Linked DNA regions of Homo sapiens: regions 2, 3, 4, 5, 6 and 7 are each linked to region 1. Evidence: promoter capture Hi-C in human tissues and cell types (Jung and others, 2019). All regions are on one chromosome and are shown on one strand. The core of a region is centred on a gene start or on the middle of the fragment in contact, and the rest is flanking DNA. Distances in the headings are between cores, read along the strand shown.

The links. The method cuts DNA at HindIII sites, captures the fragments that hold promoters and counts their contacts. A contact is called where the count stands out against the background at its distance.
Region 2: a contact is called between a fragment that was not itself captured here and the fragment with the promoter of NUAK1 in region 1, in 5 of the 25 tissues and cell types used here (H1 embryonic stem cells, IMR-90 fibroblasts, aorta and 2 more).
Region 3: a fragment that was not itself captured here is called in contact with the fragment with the promoter of NUAK1 in region 1 in 6 of the 25 tissues and cell types used here (IMR-90 fibroblasts, adrenal gland, aorta and 3 more).
Region 4: a contact is called between a fragment that was not itself captured here and the fragment with the promoter of NUAK1 in region 1, in 6 of the 25 tissues and cell types used here (H1 embryonic stem cells, aorta, dorsolateral prefrontal cortex and 3 more).
Region 5: a fragment that was not itself captured here is called in contact with the fragment with the promoter of NUAK1 in region 1 in 11 of the 25 tissues and cell types used here (H1 embryonic stem cells, IMR-90 fibroblasts, adrenal gland and 8 more).
Region 6: a contact is called between a fragment that was not itself captured here and the fragment with the promoter of NUAK1 in region 1, in 11 of the 25 tissues and cell types used here (H1 embryonic stem cells, IMR-90 fibroblasts, adrenal gland and 8 more).
Region 7: a fragment that was not itself captured here is called in contact with the fragment with the promoter of NUAK1 in region 1 in 4 of the 25 tissues and cell types used here (H1 embryonic stem cells, heart left ventricle, mesendoderm cells and 1 more).

The regions. Positions count from the first base shown.
Region 1 is chr12:106,136,635-106,140,678 of GRCh38, forward strand. It overlaps NUAK1 (NUAK family kinase 1), which reads right to left and starts at 2,320. Exons shown (of 7, transcript NM_014840.3): 1 at 1,780-2,320. The coding sequence starts at 2,019. RefSeq lists enhancers at 749-1,250, 3,642-4,044. The HindIII fragment of the contact is 8,166 bases long and covers 1-4,044 here.
Region 2 is chr12:105,640,295-105,644,338 of GRCh38, forward strand. No RefSeq gene overlaps it. Among named protein-coding and RNA genes, the nearest start is that of CASC18, 62 kb to the right of the region's middle. The HindIII fragment of the contact is 3,275 bases long and covers 420-3,694 here.
Region 3 is chr12:105,795,025-105,799,068 of GRCh38, forward strand. No RefSeq gene overlaps it. Among named protein-coding and RNA genes, the nearest start is that of CASC18, 93 kb to the left of the region's middle. The HindIII fragment of the contact is 5,258 bases long and covers 1-4,044 here.
Region 4 is chr12:105,811,210-105,815,253 of GRCh38, forward strand. No RefSeq gene overlaps it. Among named protein-coding and RNA genes, the nearest start is that of CASC18, 110 kb to the left of the region's middle. The HindIII fragment of the contact is 5,644 bases long and covers 1-4,044 here.
Region 5 is chr12:105,837,196-105,841,239 of GRCh38, forward strand. No RefSeq gene overlaps it. Among named protein-coding and RNA genes, the nearest start is that of CASC18, 140 kb to the left of the region's middle. The HindIII fragment of the contact is 6,291 bases long and covers 1-4,044 here.
Region 6 is chr12:105,856,806-105,860,849 of GRCh38, forward strand. No RefSeq gene overlaps it. Among named protein-coding and RNA genes, the nearest start is that of CASC18, 150 kb to the left of the region's middle. The HindIII fragment of the contact is 4,231 bases long and covers 1-4,010 here.
Region 7 is chr12:105,876,225-105,880,268 of GRCh38, forward strand. No RefSeq gene overlaps it. Among named protein-coding and RNA genes, the nearest start is that of CASC18, 170 kb to the left of the region's middle. The HindIII fragment of the contact is 5,868 bases long and covers 1-4,044 here.

The DNA of each region.
Region 1 (4,044 bases), core at 1,070-3,569:
CCTAGACACACCCTTACCACTTCAACAACCCCTCATAGCCTCACATTCTCAACCTGCAGCTCGAACTGCGTCTGTTTTTCATTATTCTGCTTCCCACCTTCCCAGTGCGATTCTTCAGCAGCTATTAAGACAACATGAGCAGGGATCTAAGCTTAGTTTTTGCTTATTCAACATCCAGCCTGGGGAATATCACCTCAGAAGAAAAGCATGAATGAAGTGCACGTTTCCCAGCCTCTTCTTCCACAAACCTGAAATTGCCTTCATCAGAGGCCACCCTTACAACCCTCCCCTTTAACAATTTCATCCTACGAAAATGGCACCTGCCCAGAGTGAATTCTCAACTACTTGCTTGCTGTAGAATTTATTACAGAGCCAGCTTTAAAAAGAAATGTACGCCATCTCAAATTTCCAATTAATTGATAACAGATTTTTTTTTAAAATAACGTTATGGGACGAAGTTATATAGACCCAAACATCAAATCTGAGAAATGGGTTGGGAGGGCGTTATCCGGGTATCCAGATATTTGAGAATTTGGGGACTGAACTTTGCTGACTGGCACCCCCATGTTTTTTTCACAGAACTGTTCCTGCCGAAATGCAAAAGAAACATGTCAATACTAAGCTGCTATTTTATTTGACAGCTCATTTTCCTTTTTCCCTGCAGTCATTTGTTGTTTATAAGCAAACCTGAGCCTCCAAAACACCCCCAAAAGTGCACACAAGGAGTCCCATAATCAGTTTCTGACTTTGGCCCTAAATCGATTAGAATACATCTGATCTGCTTCAAATCAAAGAACCATGTTAATTTTCTGCCACACACCACACAAAATCTTTCTGCAACAGTCAGTCACTTTGAACCCAACTCTCTAGCCACAAGCAGTGTGGATTTCAAGGGCCTGTTCTGCAGAAGTGAAAATAACAACAAACCAAGGCTGGGACAAGGCAGACAGACCCCAAGGCACTCAAAGCACTCCTTGGAGCTGTGCAAATGGTGCCAGGACCCTGGCAGGGTGTCAGCTGTCACAAGAGCAGCGGGGCCAGACCCCTTCAGCGGTTTGGTAGCCCTGCAACCAGGAGCTGAAACACAACTGAGCCTGCTGCAACTAAGCACAGCTATCTCTGTAGCTACCCATGCCCTGGACATTTCGGTCCTCCCAAAGCCATGATGCAAACTGTTAGAATCCTCAGGCTTGCAGTAGTCTTTATTTTTGCTCCCTAACCTTGTCTCAAAAACAGGCAAGAGTCGCCCTCCCTTGCAGTCACAGCAGTATCAGGGCGATGCAGAGTCTGAGTGGGAGGATGCAGAGCAAGGAGCTGCGGGCAGATGGGTGGAAGGGGGTAGGGACACCTACAAAACACCGGACTTGAGGGGCTAGCTCCTAGCTGGGAATGTGGTTCTTTGGAGAGTTGTGGAAATAAGACGTTTCGGGGCATGGTCTAAATGAGTGCCTGCGAGGGAGAGAGACCCCGGCCGTCCCAACGCTGCAAAGTGTTTGCAAATCTAAAACATTCCTTTGCTGCTAGGATTAAATTTTTAAAAACAAACCAAAAAATAAAATAAAATATGTGCAGACAGGATGTAACAAGTGTTTCAGGACAGAGACACGCCTGAGTCACGGGGTGCTGGAGAAAGAGTGAGGAGTCTGTCTCGGGGCTTCCCAATGAGCCCCCTCTCTGTCAAGAGAGCCCCAGGGCGCACAGACCCCCGCCTCGCACGCCCTCAGTCCCCGGCCGCGTCCACCCAGCGCCCCCCGCACCCTCCAGGATTGCCCCACTCACCACTCGGCCAGAAAACCTCTCGGTGGCCCGCTTGACTTTGCCGTAGGTGCCTTTGCCCAGGGTCTCCTGCAGCTCGTAGCGGTGCTTCAAGTTGTGCTTGTGGTGATGCCGCTTCACCCCGTGCGGCTTCCTGGGCTCCAGGGCTGCAGTCGCCCCCGCCACCGCCTCTCGGGGAGAGCCCGGCGCCCCCAGCCCCAAGTCGGGGCGGTCCCCCGCCACAGGCGCGGCGGCCCCTTCCATGTCCAAGCGCGGGGCGAGCCGGGCTACAGAGGGCAAGACCGGGCACAGCGCTGGGATGTCGGGGTCCCCACCGAGGGAAGCCGCTGTACGCTCAAGGTCGCCCCCGCAGCATCAGGGAGGCGGCCCGATACCGCTCGGACTGCGGCTCGGTCACTGGCGGCGGCGGGGACTGCACATCTGGCGCCCGCGGCGCGCACGGTCCGCGCACCGCCCCCCGGCCGCGGCGAGCTGTGGAGCGTCGGGCGAGGTGGCGGCGGTGGCAGGGGAGGCGGTGGTGTTTGCAGGAGGGAGGGGAGAGGGTGGCTCGCAGCGCAGGAGGGGGAGTGTTATGTGGGGCGCCGCGCCCCCCAACCCCTCCCCGGGAGGACGCGCAGACGGGGCGGGGGCGGCGCTCGCGCGGCCCCAGGGGAGGGGGAGCGAGGGGCGGTGCAGCCAGGGCTTCCCCCACCTCCCTGCAGCCACCCGGGGCCGGGGCCGCCGTGAGCTGGGAGGGGGATGGGAGCGTGTCGCGACTCGCCCTTTGTGCGGCGCGGCGTAGGCCACGGCGGCGGCGGCGGCGGCGGCCAGGAGTGCTTTGTCCTCGCTGGGCCGGAAGGGACCGGGAAATTCCAAGCCGGGCGCCCCCTCCCCGGGCGCTCTCGGGCTCGCCAGTCGCAGCTACCGCGGGCCCTCCGCCGCCTCGGGCTCCGGGGCCGGTCGCTCGGCCTGGATTCCTGCTGGCGCCGGGGCGGCGGTTGCGGCTGGCCGAGCCCCGGGGCCGGGGAAGAAAGAGCGCCGCGAGCCGGGGGCCGCCGGGACCTGCTCGCGATACGGCCGGGGCCGCCGCGGGCCTGGGCGCCCCTTCATTTTCTTGTAGGTGTCGCCGCAGCCTGGCGGCCGGAGCTGGGGGAGGGGGCAGGGAGGCCTGGTGTTCGGTTACAGGCGGTGACTCACGGACCTTGCCCGCCCGAGGCTGGCACCCCGCGGGGCAGAGCTGCGCCCGCCTGGGGCAACTCCGAGTCCAGGAGAACCCCAAGAGCGGCGCTTTGGCCCCGGCCCCCGCGCCCTCTCCGAAGAAAGGAGAGTCAGGGACGGAGGGAGGCCGGGAGGCTGAACCCCGGGCCCGCCGTCGAACCGCCGGCCCTCCGACACCATCTGGACCCCGGCGGGGACAGCCGCCTGGAAGGGGAGGAAGGCCAGGGACGTGGAAGAGATGGGGCTCTAAAGGCGCCGGGACGGAGCTGGCTCCCCAGAGGCGCCCACCCTGCCAGCGAAGGCCGCCATCGGAGGTGGGCAAACCAGGGACCTGGGGTGGACCAGGACCCCGGGCCTGCTGAGCAACCCGTTTGCTGAGCAGGAGGCGATTTGCAGGCCTCTTGCCTCCTTAGGCCTTGGGAGATTTCCTTTCACTGAAAGGGCCAGATCCTGGCGATGGTGACAGGAACGGTACCCCGCACGGTAAGGGTCAGGCAGGAAGGGCCTCCCACCGCGGCGTGGCTGCCGCCGTTCTAAGAAGAGACCATGAAAAATAAGGAAGAAGGCTAGAGAAAAAGAGGTCTTAGGGAAATTTTTTTTTTTAACAAGTGGTGCAATGTACCAGACTAGGGTGGGAAGAGTGAAGGCTGAAGAAGGTCTGGTGTTCTGCAGATCGCATGGCGGTTCTTTTCCACCAGTGGACCTCACTGGGGCCTCCTCTGCAGCTCTCAGGTGCAGCCCTTCCTCTACATTCCCGCCGCCTTCATTCCTGTCTACCCCTGGTCACCTTACCCCGGACTCCAGCAACAGCCCGCTCTCCCCAACCCTCCCCGGGAGCCTCCTCACTGCTGCCAGAGTAATGGCCTGAAACACTGCCCTCATCCTCCACACGTGTCTCTGCTGTACTCTGACGCGTGATATTCTTACCTGTCCAAACTTTCCTTCTACTGATATTTCACACAAACTTCCCTGCCCCTTCTTCCCTTCCCCAGGAGCAATGACAGAACACAGACACAAAGGCGCATCATGCCTATTCAATTCCTATTCTGTCCACCGCATTTGCAGGGCCTC
Region 2 (4,044 bases), core at 807-3,306, 500 kb before region 1:
CAGCTATTGCAGCCAAAACTCTAATCAAGAATGCAAAGTTCAGTGGTGCCTTGTACCCCATGCTCGTCAAGTTCGCTCATGCAGGCATGTGCATGCACATTCACATGTAGCCCCTCTTAGCTCTAGCACAAGAAATGGAGGCAGATCCCTGAGTGCTCCAAACACCTGAGGGGAGAAATGAAAACCCATTTTTCATGCAATAGGTAAGTTGCATAATAGACAACTGAAACTGAAAATAAAATTTTGCAAACTTTAAGAAGTATATTAGTCTGGGCAGAGAGTCAAAATCACTAAATTTTCCTACAGATGTGTTTTGAGCCTCATTCTTGAAGTCTTGGGCTCTGATACATGCTGGCCTCCATAGTGGGTGAAAGAGTCATTAATTTAGTTTTCACAATGAAGATAAGGGCTTGCAAGATGTTATTTTTGCACTGGGCACATTTCAAGGGTATTGGCCTCATTGTCTTCAAAATGTAGCTGGTGCCCTCCACTTGCCCTCAACCCATCTGAAAATGTATGTGTATGCATGGCTGAGGAGCTCTGGTACCTTGCAAATTACCCATTCAGACTGTCAAGCATCCTTTGTTTGGAAGGAAAAGAGATGTGACAAATGTAAACACTGGAGAATGGGACCAGCTACAGAGGATGGATGCCCTGTCAAACCTGATCAAAGCTGATGGTGCATTCCTTTGCTGTTAGCTGGCTGCTCTCCCCGACCAGCTCCCTCTAGCCCACTTTTCCTCTGTTATATTCTTTGATTCTAATGCCTTAGGGATGATCTGGAGCAAGGTTCTGATTAGTACAAAACTCCCCACCTTATGTTTTTGTTTGTATCCATTTTCTCTAGTTTGGTGCCAGGCCACAAGATACAAACACTGATCACATTAGATGAGGGTTGCTGATTTCCTAGGGCATAAGGCAAAGAGGTTTCCTTTCTGTCACCCAGAGTGGAAGGGCCATCTGATTCAAATGTTGATGGAGGCTGTGCCTTCAGTTATGGAGGTTCTGGTTTCATAAAATTTCCTGAGGCCAAGCTGGAGGTTTAAAGACCCAGGAAGTGGTAAAAGGAAAGGAATAGCCCCTGGCAGACTGTAAAAACCAAATCAGGGTCTTACTCTAATCCTATTCCCCAAACGTGGCGGAATTAGCTCCCAGAATGCTTAAAGTTATGCTAAAGTTGCAGCTGGCTGCCTATGGATGGTGCCTCTCAGAGTAGTCATCCGGGTTGGAAACCTGGAAGCAGGGGCTGCAGAATATCAGCTGCTAGCTTGAGCCTTCTCTGGCATGTTAGGATATCTTATTTTTTCCTTCTCCATTTGCACATCTGTTGCCTCAGATAAGCCACAGTATAGAGTATGAGAAGCGTTTATGCGAATATGTTTGACAAGTCAGACAGATTTGGGCTTAAGTTTCAGCTCCGTCTTTTCACTCTCAGACAAGGTTGTATTTGGTTGCAAGCAACAGAAAAGTTGACCAGTGATGGCTTAAAGTAAGGGAGTTACTCGTCTTCCGCAACCAGAAGTCCAGAAGGAGGCAGGCCAGGGCTAGCATAGGGGCTCAAGGATTCCCTTGTGGACCAGCTCCTGCTGGCTTCCTGTTTTGAATCCTTAGAGAGTTGTCATGGACAAGAATCTAACCCCAAAGATCACTGTGGAATGTAGTTTATTTTCAGGAAAGGATGCAGTGATGGTGAATAAACAAGCCAAATCGCTCAGTGCATCTCAGAATTCCCAGGACAGATGCTGTTCTCAGTCTGTGCTGGAAGCTTCCCTAAGTGTGGAAGCAGAGCAGAGCTTCCGTAGCGGGGAGATCTCTAAAATCCTCTCCCAGGTCTTGTCAGCCTTCAAGCACATACCCAACCAAATAGATGATGTCTTTTGTTTTTGTGTAAGGCTCACTTATGTGAGAACGACTCAGCTCTGAGCAGACATTCTAGACCTTACTTTACATTTTTACTACTGCACAGCCTGGTACCTGAGCCAAAGTGGTGATGGATGGGGGCCATAATGAAGGCAGTAGCAGAAGGATTAGAAAAGAAAGAACATGTAAGCAAGAAACTCTGGGGGGAGAGTGACTGGATCTAGAGGGCCCCAAGTTGACAATGCATTCTTGAGTTAGAGGTGCTAGAAGATGGCGAGGCCATTCATCAGAATGAGGAACTCAAGAGGAAGAAACCAGTTATTTGGGATGAAAACTTAGAAGTTCATTTTGGGACACACATAAGTTGCAGGGTTGAGCAGAGGCATATCCAGGTAGAAATACCCAAGCCTAGAGCTCAAGATGGAAGTCTGGAGCATCAAATTGCAGTGACCTTTTAATAACATTAAGGAGAGAAGATAGATTTTTCTTTAAAAATGTTTTTTCCCATTAGTTATGGGCACCCATCCTGGGACTGAATCCACAAGTTGAAGAGAATAAAGTCTGCAATTATCTGGTGAATATAATCTTTGTGGAGAGCCTGTTGAGAGGAAAACACAAACCTCTGATTCCCCATAACTGCAGGGGAAGTGGGGAAAGGTGGTTATTTCTGAGTTCATAGGAATAAATAATTCCTCAGGTTATATAAGTTTTAAAAGCTTTTTTACACATCAGCTCATTTTATGTTCACAAAAACGTCATGAAAGTCAGGGGAGAGCTGCCCCTCTACGGTCACAGATGAGGAAGGAGAGATGCAGGCAATCCCTCTGATGTATCCAGATGCTTTGAGGGCTGAGCACCCGAGCCAGCTGCCCCAGGGCTGTTTCTACCCTGACTGCAGGGAGTGGCTGCCAGGTCTTTAGCCCCTCCCTCACTACAATACTGCCTCCACTCTTCAATGACTTCACAGTGAATTAGGAATTAGACAAATGGTTCTCATAGTTCACTTGGGGATATTGTAAGATGCAGATTCTTTTTTTTTTTTTTATTTTGAGACAGTCTTGCTCTCACCCAGGCTAGAGTGCAGTGGCGTGACCTTGGCTCTCTGCAGCCTCCACCTCCCGGGTTCAAACGATTCTCATGCCTCAGCTTCCTGAGTAGTTGGGAGTACAGGCCCGCGCCACCACGCCTGGCTAATTTTTTTTTTTTTTTTTGCATTTTTAGTAGAGACAGGTTTTGCCATGTTGGCCAGGCTGGTCTCAAACTCCTGACCTCAAAGGATTCACCTGCCTCCCACAGTGCTGGGATTACAGGCGTGAGTCACCACGCCCAGGACAAGATGCAGACTCTTGATCCCCACCCCATAGGTTCAGTTTCAGTGCGTTTGTGGAGAGTCCAGGAATTTGCATCTCAGGTGAGTCTGATGTAGACAGTTCGCCCACCACATTTTGAGAATCACTGATGCCAGGGGGTTTTGGGTGAGGAGAGGCTGTCTAACTCCCTTTCTGTTGCTTTTCCTGATCCTTCTCTGTCCTTCTTTACATGAGAAGGAGTTGCTTTCCTGATTGGCTGAATTCTAGGACATAAACTGAACCATATTTACAAATGGATATTGTCATTGTGTTTTAAATGTCAAGTACTTGTATGTCTCCCCTCTTTTCTGCTTCTTGCTGCCACTGTGATGTGGTATCACTAGGCTGAGACAAGGTCCCTTGGTGTCTGCTAACTACCTCATCCTTGTCTTTTGCTTTTTTTTTTTTGAATGCTTTTTTAAATGGCCTCATGAAAACTCTGGTCCCTAGATCATATGGTGATAAGAACCAAGAGTTTCAGTTGGGAGGTAGAGGCTCCTGTAGATACTTAGACTAAGTTGCAAGCTGTCCTTATTGTTACCAGAATTCCACATTGATTATAGCAAGCATTGGTCCTGAAAAATGAAGTTGTATCTTGTTTTCATTTGATCTTATTTCTTAAGTGCATAGGATCTTCAGTGTTAATAACTAACATTTATTGAGTGCCTGCTATTTGGCCAACAGTGAATATTTTGCATGAGTACTTTGCATGAATTAACTTACTTAATCTTCCTAACAAGCTGTAAGAAAGTATCATTATTATTCCTTTTAGTCCAGATGGAAAAAATTGCCCAAAGTTTTTTTGCTGGTGAGTGATGGAGCAAGAGTTTGAACC
Region 3 (4,044 bases), core at 513-3,012, 340 kb before region 1:
TGAGGACTCAAAAAAGGTCCGGTGACCCACTCATCACAATCGATCTTTCAGGCCCTGGATGCTGGTCCTTCTACAGTCAAATCTATTTCTGTCCTCATGGGCCCTGCAAAAGGATTTAGTATCCAAATCCCATTTGGTGTTCAAATAAGACATCCTCATGCAAGGTGGACTTGACGGAATGATAATACAAACAACCGTAGAGGGTATTGAGTCAGTGCTTTGGACCAGGTGCCGCATTAGACACCAGATGATCATAATGCACCAGCATTATGATCGCCTTGAGGTTCCATACCTACTGAGTAGCAGAGGAGTCCTCAAGCTCATCCACTGCTAGGGCTCTTGCTGTTAATTCCTGCATTCTACTCCATCCTTGTTCATTTCCAAAGTCTTGTACACTTTATTTCTCCCTTCACCACCAATCCTACTTAAGGAAAGTTATCAGTCTAAGCCAGCTGCTTCTATGGGAATTAAAAAACTAAAAAAAATAGCTTACGTGTCAATTATTTCTCTCCTCTGTGTATCCATAGTTCTTGGTACACAGCTTCAGTACAGCAGGGAGCTGAACATGATCTCTCTCCATCATTAGACAGTGACTCTTTGAAGGCAAGAACCTTGTCTTATTCGTCTTTCTAACCCTAGCCCTTAGCATGGTGCCTGGCATATAGCAGACCCTTAATAAATATTTGCAGGGTCTGCAAATATTTGAATATTTGAATATTTAATTCAAATATTCAATAAATTTGAATTATGAATTCAAATAATAATGAATGAGTGAATGAATGAGTGGACAGTTGGATGCATACGTGAATAAATGATTCAAATAACCTCATTCTTTTTTGTTGAAAAGTCTGCACTGAGTCTCAGGTTCTTAAACAGCAAGAAGCGATTGAGTTGCTACAACAGTTAGCGCAATATCTGATACAGAGTTGGTGCCCAATACGTTTTATTGAATAAAAAATATTAATATATAATTCAGTCCTTAAGGCAGCATAAATCACCTGGAAGATCTATTTAAAAACTATTTGTTCTTCCAGTTCTGAAATCTATCACTAATTAAACCAGGTTAGCAAGATGCTGGGGGCCTGGGTTGCACCCAACGAGAGCTCCACAGATTGGCTTTTATGGCAGTAGGCTCTGCTGGGCTGGCGTCAGCCTGTACTGAAGGAGGCTTCAGGCTGATGACATTTGCCATCATGTCCCCTGTCAGGCTGCTGTAGAGGACCTCATTCATTACACACAGAGTTGAGGTCCTGTCTGATTTCAATATTAAAAATAGTTCTTCTGACAAACTGGTCAGTTTTTATGTCATATACTTGGTGAATTGTCTATATTTCCCTTATTACCAGTTTGTAATGTAATATACTTGGTGAATTGTGTATATTTCCCTTTTTGTTTTGGCCGCTAAAACATGAAGTCGAGTTTGTAGCCAATCATAGCAAAGGAAAAGGCTTTTTGTTATATACTTTTCCAATGTCAGTCTTGGCTCTCTTTCATTTATGTACTCTAAATTCCTCTTTCCTTCCTTCCTTTTTTCTTTTTCCTTCTTTCTCTCTTTCTTTTCTTTTCCTTTTCTTTTCTTTCTTCTTTCCTTTTCTTTCTTTCTGCTACTAATAATTTTATGTCTCTTTATTATCTATGAATGATGGTAAGCCATCAGGGATCATCAATGAAACTAACGAAATTTAAAACAGCTTATTTTATTGACTAACTACAGATGAAGCAAATGTATTCAGCAAATATATTGTTATTCAGATACACAGTGATTTTTATCTTCCCCTTGTGTATTTAATGTATTCAGGACTAGAACCATCTCTGGAAGTCAACAGAGGATAAAGACATAAAATATTAAATAAAATATGATATTTTAACAAGTCTGTTAATATCATTCCCTGAGCGTTGGGAGGCTGAGTTATGGGAGGATGATCTTAGCTCTTTTTCTGGCTCATGGGAGGTAGTCACCAAATGTTCATTGCAGGAGGAAAAGAAAAGGGGACAAGAAACACGAAGAAAGAGAAGAAGGGATAGATGAACAAAGGGGGGAATGGAGAGGGAAAGAAGGTCAGTGGAGATGTAGGGGTGGGGAAACAAATAACTGAAGGTACAGAAAATGAACTAACAATTGAATTTACCTTATTAGCTAAGGCCAATGTTTGGACCTCAGTTGTCTCTGATAGGTTATCTGGCAGCCAGAAATAAGAGGGAAGGTCAGAGTTGTTATCACTGCACTTATGGCTTTTTGCTAAAGAAGATGATGTTTCTGTCCTATTCAATTTCAATACGAGCTAAGTCGTAACCAAATTTTAGAACCAACAACTCATACTTCCTGCTTAGAATGAACCTTCTCATCCCATAATTTCCTATCCTGAGAAATACAAGACAAAGCTTTTCTCTCCTATTTCTACTTAAGTAAAAATCTGGCCAGTTTTTCCAAAAAGTAAACTTCAAATTAATAAAACTATTTTGAAAAACACTTTTATTATATTTATTTTTTTCTTAGAATAATGGTAAACAAATTCATTGTAAAAATATGGAGGCAAAATTGTATTAAAATTATATAAAATTGTCTTTAACTGTTGTTAGCATTGTCAGTTATTTTCATCCAGTCTCATTTATTTTCACATATATGGGGTAGACATATATAGTTATGTGTACACTCAGTCCTGCATCCTTTTTATGTTTTTAACTATATATGTTCCTATTTCAAGAAAAGTCCTCAAAATTTGATTTTTTTTTTTTTTTCCTGAGACAGAGTCTCGCTCTGTCGCCCAGGCTGGAGTGCAGTGGTGTGATCTTAGGTCACTGCAACCTCCACCTCCTGGATTCAAGCCATTGTCCTGCTTCAGCCTCCCAAGTAACTGGGATTATAGGTGTCTGCCACCATGCCTGGCTAATTTTGTATTTTTTAGTACAGACAGGGTTTCACCATGTTGGCCAGGCTGGTCTCAAACTCCTGACCTCAAGTGATCCACCCTCCTCAGCCTCCCAAAGTGCTGGGATTGCAGGCGTGTGCCACTGCGCCTGATTCAAAATTTACCTTTTCTTAAATGTATGCATCATATTACATTTATGGAAATTCCATTATGTATTTTGTCTTGTTATGGAATCTTTAGATAGTTTCCAAAGGATGAATATTCTATACATTTTTTCAGTTCCTCTAATCACAAGGCACTCAAGTAATAAAGTTGTGGTATTAGTGTTAACAGAATCAAACATCATGTGGGAATCCAAAAAAAAAAAAAACAGGGACCACAGTATGGTTGGGATTTACATAGATCAGAATAGGATTCAGGACAGCTTTTGTGGTAGAGATTTTAGCTGTTCATATTATTTCTGGTTCTTTTCCTTCCAGGAACTTGGTGTAGCTTGTATTTCTGTACTTTTCCATCCTCTTGAGGTCAGACATGGCCATGTGACTTATTTTAGCCAATGGAATGTGAGAGGAAGTGAAATGAGCCACACCCACGTGGAAATATTAATTTTTCCGTGTTCATGATTCTCACCCAGGAAGGATTGGCTGCTAATAACTCACAGCTCTCCTCTTCTCCAGAGAATTGCCTTAACCACCTCTCTCAGAGGAATTACATGATCTCCCCACCCTGAGGGACAGACAGCTATGAATGACTAACCCAGTAGTATAATTCATGTTCACAAGCTCCCCTTGGGACCAGGCTGAAGCTAGTCTAGAGGAATCCATATCTTTGCTTAATTTGCTTTTACTATACTAGCCCATCTGCCTCATTCCCCTTCTCCAAAAATAACTCCCTCAATAAATCACTATCACAAGATTCCAGATCTCAGGCTCTGCTTCTAGGGACCCATCTAAATCTCCCTTTTTTGGGTGATGTGGTAATGTGATCCTGAAGACTCAGTTGGAGGACAGCACTATGGAGTGTGGTCAGGACACTCCATGAAAGTAAACCTTTGTGTTATCAATACATGCAGACTTGGAGATCTATGAGTCTCTCCTGACAAACAGAATACTGGAAGTAGTTCCCCCATAACAGGAGTTTCTAGATCTAGATTTGTGTGTCTCACTTCACTCAT
Region 4 (4,044 bases), core at 998-3,497, 330 kb before region 1:
TGCTATAAATGACAAGCAAATCAGCAATATGTGCGTAGAGGCGCTCTCCTTACCAAAATATCCAGAATGAGTGATTTAAGGCTAATAAACGAACTAATCTTACAATCTGAATCTGATCTTTAGCAACAGTCCCTTTTCATAAAGGTAACAGTTATCTCTTGCAAATATGGACATAAGCAGTGACTCCTTTACTTCTAATAGTCTAGTTTGAAGGGTCTTGGGCCGAGCAGATAGTGACCTGGATGGAAGTTCTGACAAAGAGAGAAGTAAAAATTTGCTAACTATTTGTAGCCTGTTGATGAAAATACCCAGAGAGGATGCAGAAATGTCTTCAACTCTCTGAAGGTTCTTCTTATAGAGAAGGGCATGGAACGTTTCCATTTGCCTCTGAGAGTAGAACTAAGACTGAGGTTGGCAGCACTATGACAGCAGAGATTGAAAATCATTGGTGTGGGGGCCACGTTCACCTCCCAGAAAATATTTAGAATGTTTGGTTTGGCCTGTACAGTCCTTAAGACACGTTTAAGATAAAGCTAACATCAAAACTTTAAAATTGTACATAAAAATAAAGATTTCCATTGTCTCTTAAAAATTAAGCAGATTGGAAATCCCATCCTTTGGAAGAGCAACTGTGGCTGCCACCCTAGGTTCTGCACTTGGGATTGGAAAGAGGCACTCCATCGAGGGAGGTGGTTGCACCTTACTCCTCTTTTCAGAATACCATTAAAATCCAGTTTTTAATTTTAGTATTTAACAATACCCCAAATAGCCTCCTTTCAAGTGTGATTCTTTTGTGTACTCCACACAAGTTAAACTACCCTAGGTCCAAGGAAAGCGCTGGATCTGTTAACTCTGGGCCCATATTTCTGCAGGGCAATAATCTATTGGTGTGAATAGCAGATGCCTGCTTTGGAAAGGCATCTCTTTAGAAGTTAACTACCCTCCTCCATGACGCCTTGCCTTTACCAGGCCCAGGTCATTCACTTATGTTACCTCTCTCTGTATGTGCCTCAGTTTTTGACCTCTGCTACAGGGAAATAGATATGGGCTTCATATAAGGGAAAATGAATTGTTAACTATCTGAAATTTCAAACAATGCAAAAGCTTTAACATGAGATAGTGAGTTTTCCTAATACCAGAGGCATTCAAAGAGAAGTGGGATCACCACTCATAAAAGGAGAATCAATGTGAATTGGGTGCTGGCTTAGAAGATATTCTTTGGAGGCCCCCTTCCTTTCATGCCTAAATGGCACCATTCTATGAATAATTGGTAGCAAAAGCAAAGCAGGACTTGTTCAAGGAGGCGCAGGCAGGAAGAGGTCTGAGAGCTCAAAGAAAGTAATTGGCATGTTATTCCAAGGTTGGATCCAAAGCAATCTGGCAGCTTTATCCAAAGCAGGAAGAAAAATGTTAGTGCACACTAGACTTGAAAAATAATCAACACTTATTCCAGGAAAAAATAGTTTCTTTCAGTTGCTCAGGGCTGTGTGGTTTGAAGTGCACTTTTACAACATTATCTTGGTCCATCTTTGTAACTCCATGATTGAAGAGCCACACGGGTAACAGTAATCCAATTATATAGATTGGAAAACTGAGGTCCAGGGAAATCATCACTTACACTCAGTAGCCAGGGCCTCTATTTAGGTGTCATCTTTCTTTGGCTTTTACTCTTCCAGCTTTATCTCAAATCACAAATCCTAGTCATAAAATCAAAGAAGAGTGTTTAGGGAATCATCTGCCACAAGCCCCCTTCCTAATGCTGTCACATCCAGGGGATCTGCTGATAATCTGCCAAGAAGAGCAGCCAGTGCACACAGGTCATTCCATCTGTCTCACTTAGATCTTTCCTCAACAAAAGCCTGATTCTTCTTCCATTTTTGAGAGGACAGACAGGTGGTCGCCATCTTCCCCAGGACGGCCCCTCATAGACCTGAAGCCTGTTACGAAGCTGGCTCTTCATCTTTTTCATCTCCAGACAAAATAATTGAATTAACCTTTCCCCCAAATGACAAATACCGTCTTGAATATCAAACACCCTTTTCATATAAATGGAGAATTCCAGAGTGGCCCATTTAACAAATGCCTCTTCTTTAAAAGCTCCTCTTCCCAAAAGCAGGAAGGCTATTAGCAAGCTAGCTCTTCAAGTAGCCCATTAGTGGCCTGAAGGAATCTGCAAGAAATACAATTAGACCTCTGACCCCAGATCCCAGCGAGTGCTTTGAAGAGAAGAGAACGATCAAGCCTCAAAGCTGGTCAGTCTGTGCGGCTCACTCTGGACCCTGGGTGTGGGCCCCAGTTGCTCCCCTAGAAGAGTAAAGAGTCAGGGTCCCGGATTCCCTTGGGAACCTCCTTCTGCTCTCTGGCCTCATCCCATTTCACATACCAAAGTCTTTTGCTGGCAGCACCCTGAGGACATTACATTTGCTTGACTATAATTCTCGTAGCACAAATACATTGCTTCTTTTTCTCCATGGGAGGGGCTTGAGAACTTAAACTATTGTGACCCAAACTATTTTTCAACTGGCCTATACTAGTTCAACAATTACACTTCTGAGCTTCAATCTCCTTTAATATAAAAGAGAACAATCATTACCATATATTCAAATGGGTATTGTGAGACTCACAGGAAATGAAGTCTATGGAAAGCTTTTGTAAACTGTGATGTGTTGGTAAATATACAGGAATATTAACATTGCCATTTTAGACACTATTTTTTTGTTGTTGTTGTTCCAAGATGGAGTTTTGCTCTTTTTGCCCAGGCCGGAGTGCAATGGCACGATCTTGGCTCACTGCAACCTCTGCCTCCCGGGTTCAAGCAATTCTCCTGCCTCAGCCTCCCAAGTAGCTGGGATTGCAGGCGTACATGACCACGCCTGGCTAATTTTTGTATTTTTAGTAGAGACGGAGTTTCACCATGTTGGCCAGGCTGGTCTCAAACTCCAGACCTCCGGTGATCCACCCACCTTGGCCTCCCAAAGTGCTGGGATTACGGGTGTGAGCCACCGCACCCTGCCTAGCCACTCTTACTAAATGTCTCCTAGCCCAGCAGCTTCTCCAGGGGAAGAAAGAGACAACGTCTTGTTAAATTTGGCCCAAACTAGGCTGCTAGTGAAAAGGCCAGGCTGAGCAGCTCAGTCGGGAGCTTGTTGTATAGCTCTCTTTTGTTCTGGCACACCTGCCAGTCTGACATCTGACATCAGTGTAAATAAGCCTCCCATAGGAATTGCTTTTATCATTGCACCTGTCTGTTCCAACTTACTTGCTATGATCACAGCCCACAGCTCTTGACGGCTGTGCACAGTCAGAAGGCACAAAAGAAAGCCTTTCCCTGGGGCCCATTTGTCTCTGCACTGTGCCCCAGTGGCTGCTTATCTATAAGTGGGTATTTTGACACTCCCAACCTGCCTATCCATCTCAGGCCTCCTCCGAGTTACTCAGAGTCTGATGTCTGAACCAGAGGTTAATTTATTATTTTTTTCTTTCATTGCCTGGTCTGGAAGTGGGTGTTTACCTCTATGAAATATTCAGGCAAGGTCCTATATCGATTTATAATAGACCTTTGTAATTAAAAAGATAATTTTTTATTGATAAGTCAAGCCAGGCATAGATACATATCTCTTTCTAAATACAAGTAAACAGAGAAAAATCTACTGGTGCCTGTGATAAACTGATAGATTCCCATTCTTCACCTTAATTCTTTAGACTTCCTTCATGTGTGGCTTTGGGGTTTTCCCTATAAAGGCAGGGCATACTTCCCTACCCCATGCAACTTGCTTTGGCCGAAACATTGAGGCAAAAGTGAGGGTGTGTCTAGGCCTCAAGAGGCCTTGTATGTTTACGCTGGACCTCTTTGGGCTTCTGCCATTGCCAGGTAAAGGACAGTCTGGGCTAATTGGTGGGTTAGGAGGGGTATGAGAGATACCTAAAGCACAGCTGTTGCAGTCCAGCAGCCCCAAACAGACCCCGCTCTGCTGAGTCCACTAGTCACCTGCAGACATCTGAGAGCTTGCCAAGATCAGCCAATCACCAGATAACCCACAGACA
Region 5 (4,044 bases), core at 453-2,952, 300 kb before region 1:
ACACGTAAAATTAATTTTCAGGATTATAATGAAACATAAATGAGTTAACATATGCAAGATACCTAGCACCTTACATTCTAATGCCTGGAACTTTGAAACAATTCCAATCGAAACTCCTTCTTCTCCACATCCAGCATTTTTAAAAAATTAACTTCTGCATTAGTCTGGTAAATTACCAACAGCCTCTTCAAGGCAACCTAAGCTTTTGCTAACATGTACCTCAAAACTCTTCCAGCCTCTACCCTTTCCCCACATCCAAGATTATGTTCACATTTTTAGGCATTTGTTCCAGCATATCCCCACTTCTCAATGCCAAAATCTGCCATAACAAAGTGCCACAGACCGAGTGGCTTAAAGAAATTTATTTTCTCACAGTTCTGGAGGCTAGAAGTCCAAGATCAAGGTGTTGGCAGGGTTGGTATCTCCCAAGCCTGTCTCCTTGGCTTATGGAAGGGGAAGGCTGTCTTCTCCCCGCATCCTGGCATGGTCTTCCCTCTATAACTGTCTGCATTCAAATCTCCTCGTCTTATAAGGACACTAGTCAGATTGGATTAGGGCCCAGCCATGTGGCCTCTCTTTACATTAATTACCTCTTTGAAGGCCCCATCTTCAAGTATAGGCACATTCTGAGGTACTGGGGGCTAAGACTTCAATACATGAATTTGGGGGAACAGGGGGGGACCCAATTCAATGCACAATAACCTCTGATCAAAATCATCTAAAAGAGAGATGATGAGGCTGGGTGCTGTGGCTCATGCCTGATCCCAGCACTTTGGGAGGCTGAGGTAGGTGGATCACCCAAGGTCAGGAGTTCGAGATCAGCCTGGGCAATATGGTGAAACCCCGTCTCTACTAAAAATATGAAAATTAGCTGGCTGTGATGACATACACCTGTAGTCCCAGCTACTCGGGAGGCTGAGACAGGAAAATTGCTTGAACCCAGGAGGTGGAGGTTGCAGTGAGCCAAGATTGCGCCACTGCACTCCAGCTTGGGCAACAGAACAAGGCTCTGTCTCAAAATAAATAGATAAATAAATACAGAGAGAGAGAGAGAGAGAGAGAGAGAGAGAGAGAGAGAGAAATGATGAGAGCCTAAAGTAAGAGAAAAGAGGAGAGACATTTGTTAATATACACATCATCTTTTCCTAAACAGTTCTAGTAGCCTTAGAACCTGCCTTCCCAAGGTATGTAAGTAACTTTTATTTGGGGAGGGGAAAAAGCTGAGTGCTGTCAGTTCTTTGGTTCTGTGTCTAGAAATGAACAACCCTGGGGTTTTCTGGGGGCATTATTTATTTTTCATTTGGTAGTGTTGGCATCATGAAGACAGAAGCTGAGAGAATCATCAGCTTGGAGCAAAGCGAAAAACAAAAGCAGAAAAGACAAAAGGAAAAATACCACATTTTTCCCCCCGAGAGCACCAGTGGAACCGAGAACTTCCAGCCTGGGCCTGACCCTCTCTGTCCCAGCGAAGGACAATCCCAGGTTCTTTGCAGGACAGCAAATGACAGCAGAGAAGATTCTGGAGAAACGTGTCCATCTGTGTTCATGGTGGAAACTGATGAAGAAATCTTCTTCCAAAGGTACTTTTCATGGGAAAATCGTATATGGTCTTGACAGAGCTGCCAGTCCCTCTGGAGGAACTCAAGTTGCTTTGCAGGTTGTAAATGGCCAGGAGGGGGATGATACTCATCTGGGGGTCCCATCAGAAATCAGCGGTGAAATAGGGGAGGCAGGGACAAGGCTGTGCAATATATCCCTCTAGAGCAGACCTCTCCTGCACCTGTCTGGGCTGGCTACTTCCGGCAGAAAACACAGGACATTTTACCAGCATGAGTGTCACCTGAGACAGAGGGGCCTGAAGATGAGAATTTAAGGCGTGAGGTGAGGAGAGGGTGGTGAGGTATCTGCCACGTGAACATCAGTTTGGGTGCGATTTCAGGGGGTGCTCAAAAGATCTGTGATGTAGCTGGAAGAGCATTGGAATGGGAGTCAGAAGGCCTGGGATAGGGTTTTGAATCTTCTCTCTACTACCTTAGTCACTTTGGACATACTATTTTTCTGAGTCTCACTGCCCTCATTTAGAAAATGTACAGGATTCTAAAATCAAATGGTGTACATAAAAGCATTTTGCTAGTTTCTGAAATGATGAGGAGGAAACCATTTGGTTTTTGGAGTCAGACAGACCTGGGTTCAAATGCAGTTTTTAACATGGACAAGATAATCCTGAGCCAACTCATTCAGCCTCAGTTTCCCCAACCATTTATTCATTCATTCAATAAATATGTTATAGAGACCCAACTATGAGTCAGGTACTAAAGAAAGATGCATGCTTGTCCTCACAAAACTTTCTCATCTGTTAAAAGGAGAAAAATGGATTACCTATCTTACAGCGTTGCTAGAAGAATTAATAAGACTGCGTATTTGTAACTCTCGGCCTAGCAGTGGTCTAAAAGGAATGCTCAATAAACATTCATCCCACTTTTTCCCCCAACAAAAGCATTATCATCTTTAATATGGGAAATTTTTTTGATAAGGACTTTTAGGGAAAAAAAATGAAAATGATTACAAAGAAAGGCCAGTTACTTTCGCATATTAAAAGTTGGTTTGGGCATAAACATATTCTGCTGTAGCAGCATATTTCATTCGATGGACTAGAAGATAAATGATTTGGACAGTTCTTTTTACTGAACTTAAAATTAGTCAGACAATTAGCCTGAGTCCACTTGATATAATGTAATTCTATTCAGGGATTGAGATGGTATCTTCATTAATAAGCCTCTGGAAGCCATATACATGAGCATCCAAGCCAAAGATTCACCCCATCCCTGTCTTGCTCCCTCTCCCTTTATCCTCTCTTAACACACACACATAGGCATATACACATGTGTGCATGCAGACACATGTATGCACGCGTTCACAAACATACAAACACACACTATTCTGGAGAGACTAGTATGGCATTTTCATAAAGATAGCATGTCATTTGAGAAATAGTCCTTATTTTTGCTATTCTAATAAGTGTTTATTTAATAGTGAAATACATAAATGAATGAATTAGCTCTTACGGGCCAAGCACCAGTCCTGAAACATGTTTTTTTGGGGGAAAAAAATAACCCAAAGTGTCCCACAGTCAAATAAATTTGGGAACACTGTATTCTATAATTCCTGGAAATTCACAATGTACAAGAGCTCATATAGGTTCGGAGAAGTTTTCTAGCAAATAAACCAGTTTGATGTTGTTAATCCAGTGATCCATACTTATTTGATCAACACGTATGTATTTCTTAATTTTTTTTTGTCTGTCAGTGTGGCAACACCCATTAATTTCACAAAACTCATGCTTCCGAGAAGCTCCACTTTGGAAAGACTGCACTAGCTAGTGAATTGGGGGCAGAGCTGCTATCTTTGGGCTCCAGCTGGGACTTTGCAAGACACAATGTTGCTCTGAAGATAAAGCATGTCCTACTCATCTGTGCAGACAACTGAGGCCAGTTCCAGCTAGGCAAGCATTTAAAATTCTATTACAAGGACAATGGGACGTCTCAGTGCACTCAGGGTCAGGGATACAGTGGAACCTCAGAAAGTACTGAAACCAGGGACTAGAAGGCGGCAGGACCCTCTCAGTTTCCCATCCCTTCTCTCCCTACCTTGGCTTCCTTCCCTCTGTCTCTGCTTTTTTCATCACCCTTTACCACTCCAGATCACAGAGCAGGTCTTCCGCCTACCCACTCTGAAGCTGACATCTACATCTCAGCATCCCTGCTCAGACGTATGTGGTCATAGGGCAGGGTCATCTCCTACAAAGTGGTTGCTGGGCCCTTTCTCTCTCAGGGGAAGGAGACGGCTGGAGATTTCTGGGCAGACACTCCACAAGGGTCCACCGAACTTTCTTCAACACTTTGTCCACATGGCTTCTAAGCCCCGGCCATGTCTAGAATCACTTGGAAGCATTTTCAAACTATTTTTCTTGGGTACCCTAGCAGAGATGCTAATTCAGGAGATGTGGGGAGGGCCACAGAAATTTATACATTGTGGAAGTTCCTC
Region 6 (4,044 bases), core at 645-3,144, 280 kb before region 1:
TTATTTTAAAAATAGGATAATTTACTTAAAGACAAATATTAAGCAAATGACATTACAAGTTATAGGTGAAAGTTGTGAATTTGTACAAGTGGTAAGTAAGTGAAGTTTAGGAAGCTTGGAGATGACGTATGAGCAAGTACAACCTAAAAGATGGTAGGAGTGACACGGTGACCCCTTGTAGACTTGAGCTAAGTGCCTGATTCACTGTGAATTCTCCAGCACTGAGAATTGGATTGGCTCACAATCAGTGCTCAGTATGTGGTTATGACAAATGGATGAATGGATGTTGGATTTATGGATGGATGGATGATGGGTAATAAGTGGAACGGTAGATGAGTGATGGATGGGTGGATGAGTGAATTGGTAGATGAATGATGGGGATGGATGAATGGTGGATGATGAGTAGATGGATGATGGACCAATGGATGGATGAATGCATGTTGAACAACGGATGATGGATGGATGGGTGGATGGATTCATGGATGAATGGGGAAATGAATGAAATAATTAAACACCGACCTTTTGGAGTCAGAAGAACTTAGTTTAGAGTTACAAAGGATGAAGCATGGTGTCAAAGGTGTCAGTGACTTCAGGGCCTGGGGGTGGGAGGGTGGGGGCAGATATTCTTGCTCTGAGGTGTCATCTGGATGCTAAAACCCTCTATACTGCCACAATTAATACTGAGCCATGGAAACATCAGGCTGAAACAGGAAACACTAAGCTGATGTCAGCTCTGTTGCCCACATAGAAATGTCATTCCTGGACACAGGCACTTGCAGTAAATATCTAGTGAAGACAGTAGGAATAGAAATGCCTACAACTATAAATCCTTGGAAATGTTGACTCATGTAAGTTTGAACTTCTAGCCATTTGCTGATGAGAATGGCATCTTCTAGGTGCAGCCCACGGGCACAGAGGGCACCAGGGACCAGCAACAATCGCATGTCAAAAGGATAAGGAAACTCAAGTGCATTGGGCTGCCCCACTCAAGAAGAAGCTCCCATAATAGGTCAAATTCCAACAGAGGAGATTTTTGCATTGGCAGAGAGGGAATGATGTCTTACATGACAGATGACAGCCCTTATAATTCAAACAGTCTCTACTTCTTTTATTAAGAAATATTTTGAAAAACATGAGGTGCTCAACTTATTTTTTCAATCCCAGGACATACCCATCTGCTTTTGCCTTCCAGTTTCATGCTGAAAAATTTAAAGTGATACTATTTTCATCTCTTCCCTCATTTCAATACAGAAGAACCCTGATGAACTAACGCATAGAGAGAGCAATTTTTTACGGACAGAGGGGAACTGTGGAAAGGTGGTGACGGTCCAGCCCCTGTAGAAAAATTCTGAATCCCCATTTGCTGGTATGTTCTGCCACCTCTCTGTGCCTCAGTTTCCATTTCTGTAAAGCAGGGAAACATCTATGGAGCTGTTGTGAGGATTAAATGAGTTAGCAAAGGCAAAGCATCTCGAAGTTTCTGGCACATAGTAAGCACCCAATAAATGTGACCTAATTTTATTCTGTGTACTTACTTTGTACCAGAAACTTTCACTTCAAGAATGTTATTTAATCCTTAAAAATTAAAAATTATTCCTAGTTTCCAGATCAAAGGTTAAGTGACTTAACAAAGTCTAGCAAATAGTAAAAGTAGGATACAAACCAAATTCCTTATCTTCTTGTCTTTCCTGCCATCTTATGCTACTGTGCTAATCTGATTCACCAATTAAAAGCCATTTCCATAAAGCATGAATTCAATTAGGTTTATATTTTTAAATTTTTGATCTAACAATAGAATGGATCCCCTTTCTGCCCATCTTTATTTTTTTGTCACGTGTGTGTGTTTATGTGTGTGTGTGTGTGTGTGTGTGTGTGTGTGTGTGTTTTTCAAGGTTGAGGTACTTAACCTGATACTTAAATGTGACTCTAAACCCCTTGAAGGCAAACTTCATTTCATCTGTATCATATGACTTGGTGGAAAGGCATATACAGAGGAAGGATTTGGTGACAAGAGATGGCTTATGGTAGCCCCCACCTGGAGTGGGCCTCTACTTTCCCACCAAGGCTAATTTAGAAGGCAGAGGGTGCTAAAGGCAGTTGGAAATATTAGAGGTTGTCCTTTGCTTACCAGCTTCTTCCAGGACCCATGTGTCTCCCAGCCCCCTTCCCAGACCTAGTTCTACCCTCAGTACAAGACATCTCAGCCTCTGAGAGACTCTAAGGTAGGAAAGATATGGACATAAATGAAGAAGGGAAGGAGAAAGGAGTGAGAACATTGAGAGGAGTTTTCTCAGTGGCTTGTGATTTTCCCTAAAGAAGGAAACAAGGGCATGGCATGAGTGAGGGAAGGTGGGCGGGGGAGCCTAGAATGAGATGGGAGAGAGCTGACTCAACGGGAAAAAGCAATGCCAGAAGACTGTGAGGGCCATTGACCAAGGAAGCCAAGAATGCGACTTCATTATTTCACACTAACTGTGCCTTTCTTAGAAAAAATAGCTTGGACTCTTGAAACATCAGGCTGTGGTCTCTAGGTTCCTTTGAGGATGGATGGTGGTATGACTTGGCTATGTCTCTATCCAAATCTCATCTTGAATGGTAGCTCCTATAATTCCCACATGTTGTGGGAGGAACCCGGTGGGAGATCCTTGAATCATGGGGCAGTTTCCTCCATACTGTTCTTAGTGAATAAGTCTCACAAGATCTGATGATTTTATAAGGGGAAATCCCTTTTGCTTGGTTTTTCTCATTCTCTCTTGCCACTGCCATGTAAGAACTTGCCACTGCCATGTAAGTTCTCTTGCCACTGCCATGGAAGTTCTTGCCACTGCCATATAAGAACAGTTTTTCTCCTTCTGCTATGATTGTGAGGCCTCCCCAGCCATGTGGAGCCTCTTTTTCTTTATAATTTACCCAGCCTCAGGTATGTCTTTATCAGCAGCATGAAAACAGACTAATACAGATGGTGAGTTCATTCAGCTCTGTGTGGATTCATTCAACCACCACGTAAACCTGTATTGAACACATACTATGTGCCAGGAAGTCCACTGGGCTCTGAGGACACAATGGTAGTAGAAATAAAAAATGCTTCTGCTTTCATGGAACTTACAGTATGATGTGGGAGATGATCAAAAAGCAAAAGACAACCATTTTCATAAATAAGAAGACAGGGTATAAGGAGGGAGAATAATGGGGAACACCTTCTGAACTCCGGGGGTGGTTCAGAGATGGCCTTACAGAAAGCGGGAAAAGAGCATCCAGGCTGAGGGAATAGCATGTGTGGAGGGGGCCAGAGGAGAAAGGAGCTAATCAGGGCAGGAGCCTAAAGTACAGGGAGCAAGGGGCAGTGAGGCCAGAGGGATTGATAGAATGGTAGGCAGGTCAAGTGGGGCCTGTCAGGGTTTGGATTTTAATTTTAATTTAATTTAATTTCAACTGGGACATCCATCTTTGTACCTGATGAGGCTCTCTTCCCAGCAATGTCCAAGTTGAACATTCTAAAAGTTTTAGGTTAAGGTAGTATCTTTGCATCACCTACACTGTCCCCAAGCTCTCAGGACGAGACAGCATATTTGGGAAATGCCTGGGGAGTAGGGTCACACTAAACACAAACATTTTTGTCTTAAGAGGGCTCACCACCTTGGACCACATCCCTCCAAACCACTGGGAAGCTTTGTAAACATACAGATGGATGCCTGGGCTCCACCTCAGGCCCTCTGCATCAGAATCTTGGCGGGGTGGGTGTGGGTAAATTCAAGCCCTAGATGTGCCTTTAATGCCTTACAAAGTTCCAACTTGCCTCTTCAGGCTCATAAAATCTCCATCATACCAAACATGGAGCCCAAAGAGAATGGCTTTCCCTTTGTTGATAATGACTCAACCAAAGCATTCCTCCCCTGCTTCGTTTACCTGCCGTGGGCCTCTTAGCAAAGCACACCTGTCCATCTGTCAATATTTACTCTGTCTGCTGCCCTCAACAAAAGAAGGGAAAATTGTTTTCACTGTCAAGCTAGTGTTTATACAAAGGATTTGTAGACTTTCTCAGAG
Region 7 (4,044 bases), core at 878-3,377, 260 kb before region 1:
TAGCCTTGGTGAGCTTGTGGTTTTGTTCTTTAAAAACTTTTTGTGTTTTTTGTGTGGCAAGTCTGTCTTTTTGGAGTCTGACTCCTTTGCACTTGTTGCAAGTTAACTTTTCTTTTCTAAGTGCTTTTATCTCTGAGTCTTTTCACTGACAGTTATGATGTCAATTGCAAACAGTTTAATATTCATCTTCCCCAGTTCTAAGGGTGCTGGCCAAGATGCCACCCACGGATGAAGCTTTCATTAAGAGTTGGTGGCCAGGATGTGAGCGTTGGGAGGAGCATAAAGGGGAAAAAGTAAAAAAAAAAAAAAAAAAAAAAAAAAAAAAAAGATTTCAGCTTGGTACATCTGCCCCACAACAAATATAGATCATCTTCCACATCTGGTAAATACTGTGGGTCAGCATTTGAGTTCTTAAGCAAGGAGCTGCAGTCACATGGTGTGGAGCTACACAAAAGCTGTGTTAATCAGAACTGTGTGAATTAGCTCCATCTGGATTTCTAAATCAGGGAACATGTTCATTTATAAATCAATATAAATATAAATAAAGAAATATATGTGTAAATATTTATAATTAAAGCTAAATATGTAAATATATTAAAATCAATCTTCATATTAAGTATTAACATATAATATAGGAATACATTTTCTATTAATATAATATAGAGATACAATATATTTGTAATTAAATATGTATTTATAAACATATATATTTGTAAGGAAAGAAACCTATTTTTGTAATTTTAAGATAAGCTAGGTTAATAAAGTTTATTTAAAGCATTTCCAACTATAGTTTGGAACAATCCTTAGAGGTTTTACTTTCAGGGTTACATAGAATGATTTTCAATAAAAGTAGAGATAATTGGAACACCAACAAGACACTTTGAAAGTGCTTGGGAGTGTTTAAAAATAGTTTCTTCTCTTAATAGCTTAAATATTCTCCATAGCATTATTCACTTTTTACCAACCCTAAAGAAATGGTTTTCTACACAAAGTTGAAGTTTAACCAAGGTCCTATTTGAATTATGACACGGATCAAATTTGTAGAGCAAAAATATTATGAACTGACATTTATTGAGATGTTACTCTGTGCCCAGCCCTGTGATAATTTATCTGCATTATTGCATTGAATTTTCACATTTCTCTATGAGATAGTATAACTGGAACCCCCGAATTGTAGTTGAGGAAAGTATTTTTTCCAAGGCTAAACAAGAAGGATGTGGCTAAGTAAGTATTTGAGCCCAAATCATTCCGACTCTTGAAGCTGAGCATTTTTTTTTTTAATACTTTAAGTTCTGGGATACATGTGCAGAACATGCAGGTTTGTTACATAGGTATACACGTGCCATGGTGGTTTGCTGCACCCATCAACCCATCATCTACATTAGGTATTTATCCTAATGCTATCCCTCCCCTAGCCCCCCACCCCCAATAGGCCCCAGTGTGTGATGTTCCCCTCCCTGTGTTCATGTCTTCTCATTGTTCAACTCCCACTTATGAGTGAGAACATGCAGTGTTTGGCTTTCTGTTCCTGTGTTAGTTTGCCGAGAATGATGGTTTCCACCTTCACCTATGTCTTAACCGCTCCGCTCCACCACTCCTCATGGACAGTTTTACTCTATTCATTCTTTCCTTCAGTAAACGTATAGTCTTTGAGCATACACTATGATTAGACGCCTTTCTGAGTGCCAGGGACATGGCAGAGAATAAGACAGAGAAGCTACTCTCATGGAATTTACATTTCTGGGATGGGAGTTAGTAGACAGAAATATATATACACAGTAAATACAGTCGTGCATCACTTAACGACAGGGGTAAGTTCTGAGAAATGTGTCCTTAGGCGATTTCATCCTTGTGTGAACATCACACGGTGTACTTACTCACACAAACCTAGATGATAAAGCCTATTGCTCCTAGGCTACAAACCTGCATGCATGTTAGTGTACTGGATACTGTCAATTATAACACAATGGTAAGTATTGGTATATCTAAACATAGAAAAGGAACAATAAAAATACATAGCATCAAGATAAAAAATGGTACACCTCTATAGGACACTTCCCATAAATGGAGCTTTCAGGACTGGAAGTTTCTCTGAGTCAGTGGGTAAGTGGTAAGTGAATGTGAAGGCCTAGGACATTACTGTACACTACTATAGTCTTTATAAACACTGTACACTTAGGATACACTACATTTATTTAAAGTTTTTTCTTTATTCAATAATAAATCAACCTTACCCTATCGTAATGTTTTTACTTTATATACTTTTAATTTTTTAAATATTTTTATTGTTTTGTAATAATACTGAGCTTAAAACACAGACACACTGCACAGTTGCACAAAATTATTTTCTTTATATCCTTATTCTATAAGCTTGCTTCTATTTTTAATTTTTTTCATTTTATTTTTTTCACTTTTTAAACTGCTTTGTTAAAAACTAAGACACAAACACAAAGGGTCTACGAAGGGTCAAAATCATCCATATCACTCTCTTCTACCTCCACATCTTGTCCCACTGGAAGGTCTTCAGGGGCAGTAATACACATGGAGCTATCATCTCCTATGATAACAATGCTTTCTTCTAGAAAACCCCCTGAAGGACCTGCTTGGGGCTGTTTTACAGTTAACTTTTTTTTTTTTATCAGTGGAAGTACACTATAAAATAACGATAAAAGGTATAGTATCATGAATATGTACACCAGTAACATAGTCGTGTATTATCATGATCGAGTGTATTATCATACACATTAATTGTATGTGCTAGACTTCTATATGACTGGCAGCACAGTAGGTTTGTTTACACCAGCATTTCCACAAACACGTGAGTAACGCATTGCTACTATATTAGGATGACTATGAAGTCACTAAGCGATAGGAGTTGTTCAGTTCCATCATAATCTTATGGGATCACTGTTGTATATTCAGTCCCTCATTGACTAAATCACAGCTATGCAGTGCATGACTGTACAGAGTGTGTCACTTCCTAGTGCTATGGAGAAAAAACTAATGCAGGAAAGATGGACATGGGAGACTGTGAGGAACAGGCTAGGCACTTTGAACAAGGTGAACATGCTTCCCTGTGGAGGAGAGACCTGCAGGTGGTAAGGGAATGAGCTTTGCACACCTTGGTCTCAAGGGAATTGCATTTTAGGCAAGTGCAGATGCTCTGAGGTAGGAGCCTGCTGAGCTGTTCCAGGAGGACCAAGATTGTCCTGGCTGGGGCAGAGTGACCCAGGGCTGTGGTTCTCCAAACAGGGTCCTAGGACAAACAGCATCAGTTTCATCTGTAGACTAGTTAGAAGTGCCAATTCTCAGCCCCCATTCCACACCTGCAGGTATGGGAACTCTGGAGTGGGGCCCAGAAGTGTGTATGTGCATGCATATGTGTGTGTGTGTGTGTGTGTGTGTGTGTGTGTTAACTTTTTTATATTGAAATAATTTCAGATTGACAGAAGAGTTGTAAAGACAGTACAAAGATTTTCCTTACACCCATCTTCCCTTGATGTCAACCTCTTACTCCATCGTGGCACATTTTTCAAAACTAAGAGATTAACAGTTATATGGCACTAATAACTAAACTGCAAACTTTATCTGGATTTCTCTAGTGTTAGTGATCTGTGGTTTAACAAGTTCTCCAGATGATCGAATACTACCAAAATTTGAAGACCACTTAGCCAGAGGGATAGTAATAGGGGATGACGTCAGGGAAGTTGGGGTGTGGGGGTGTCTAGATCTTGTAGGGTCTTACAGGCGATTGCAAGGCCTTTAGGTTTTTCTCTGAGAAGAGAAACCATTTGAGGGTTCTGAGCTCAAATGACTTTCTCAATGTGATCTAATGTGACCATTCTATCTTAAAATTTGAATGGCTTTCCCTCAACCCTATCCCCAATCTTTGCATGATTCCTTCCCTTGCTTTATTTTTCTTCCTAGTCTTTGTTCCTTTCCTTTTTATTGGTGATCTTCATTATTTTCTGCCTCCTCTGCTAACTCCACAAGGGCTAGAATCTTTGCTTGACTCATTGATATATCCTCAGCACCTAGAACAGC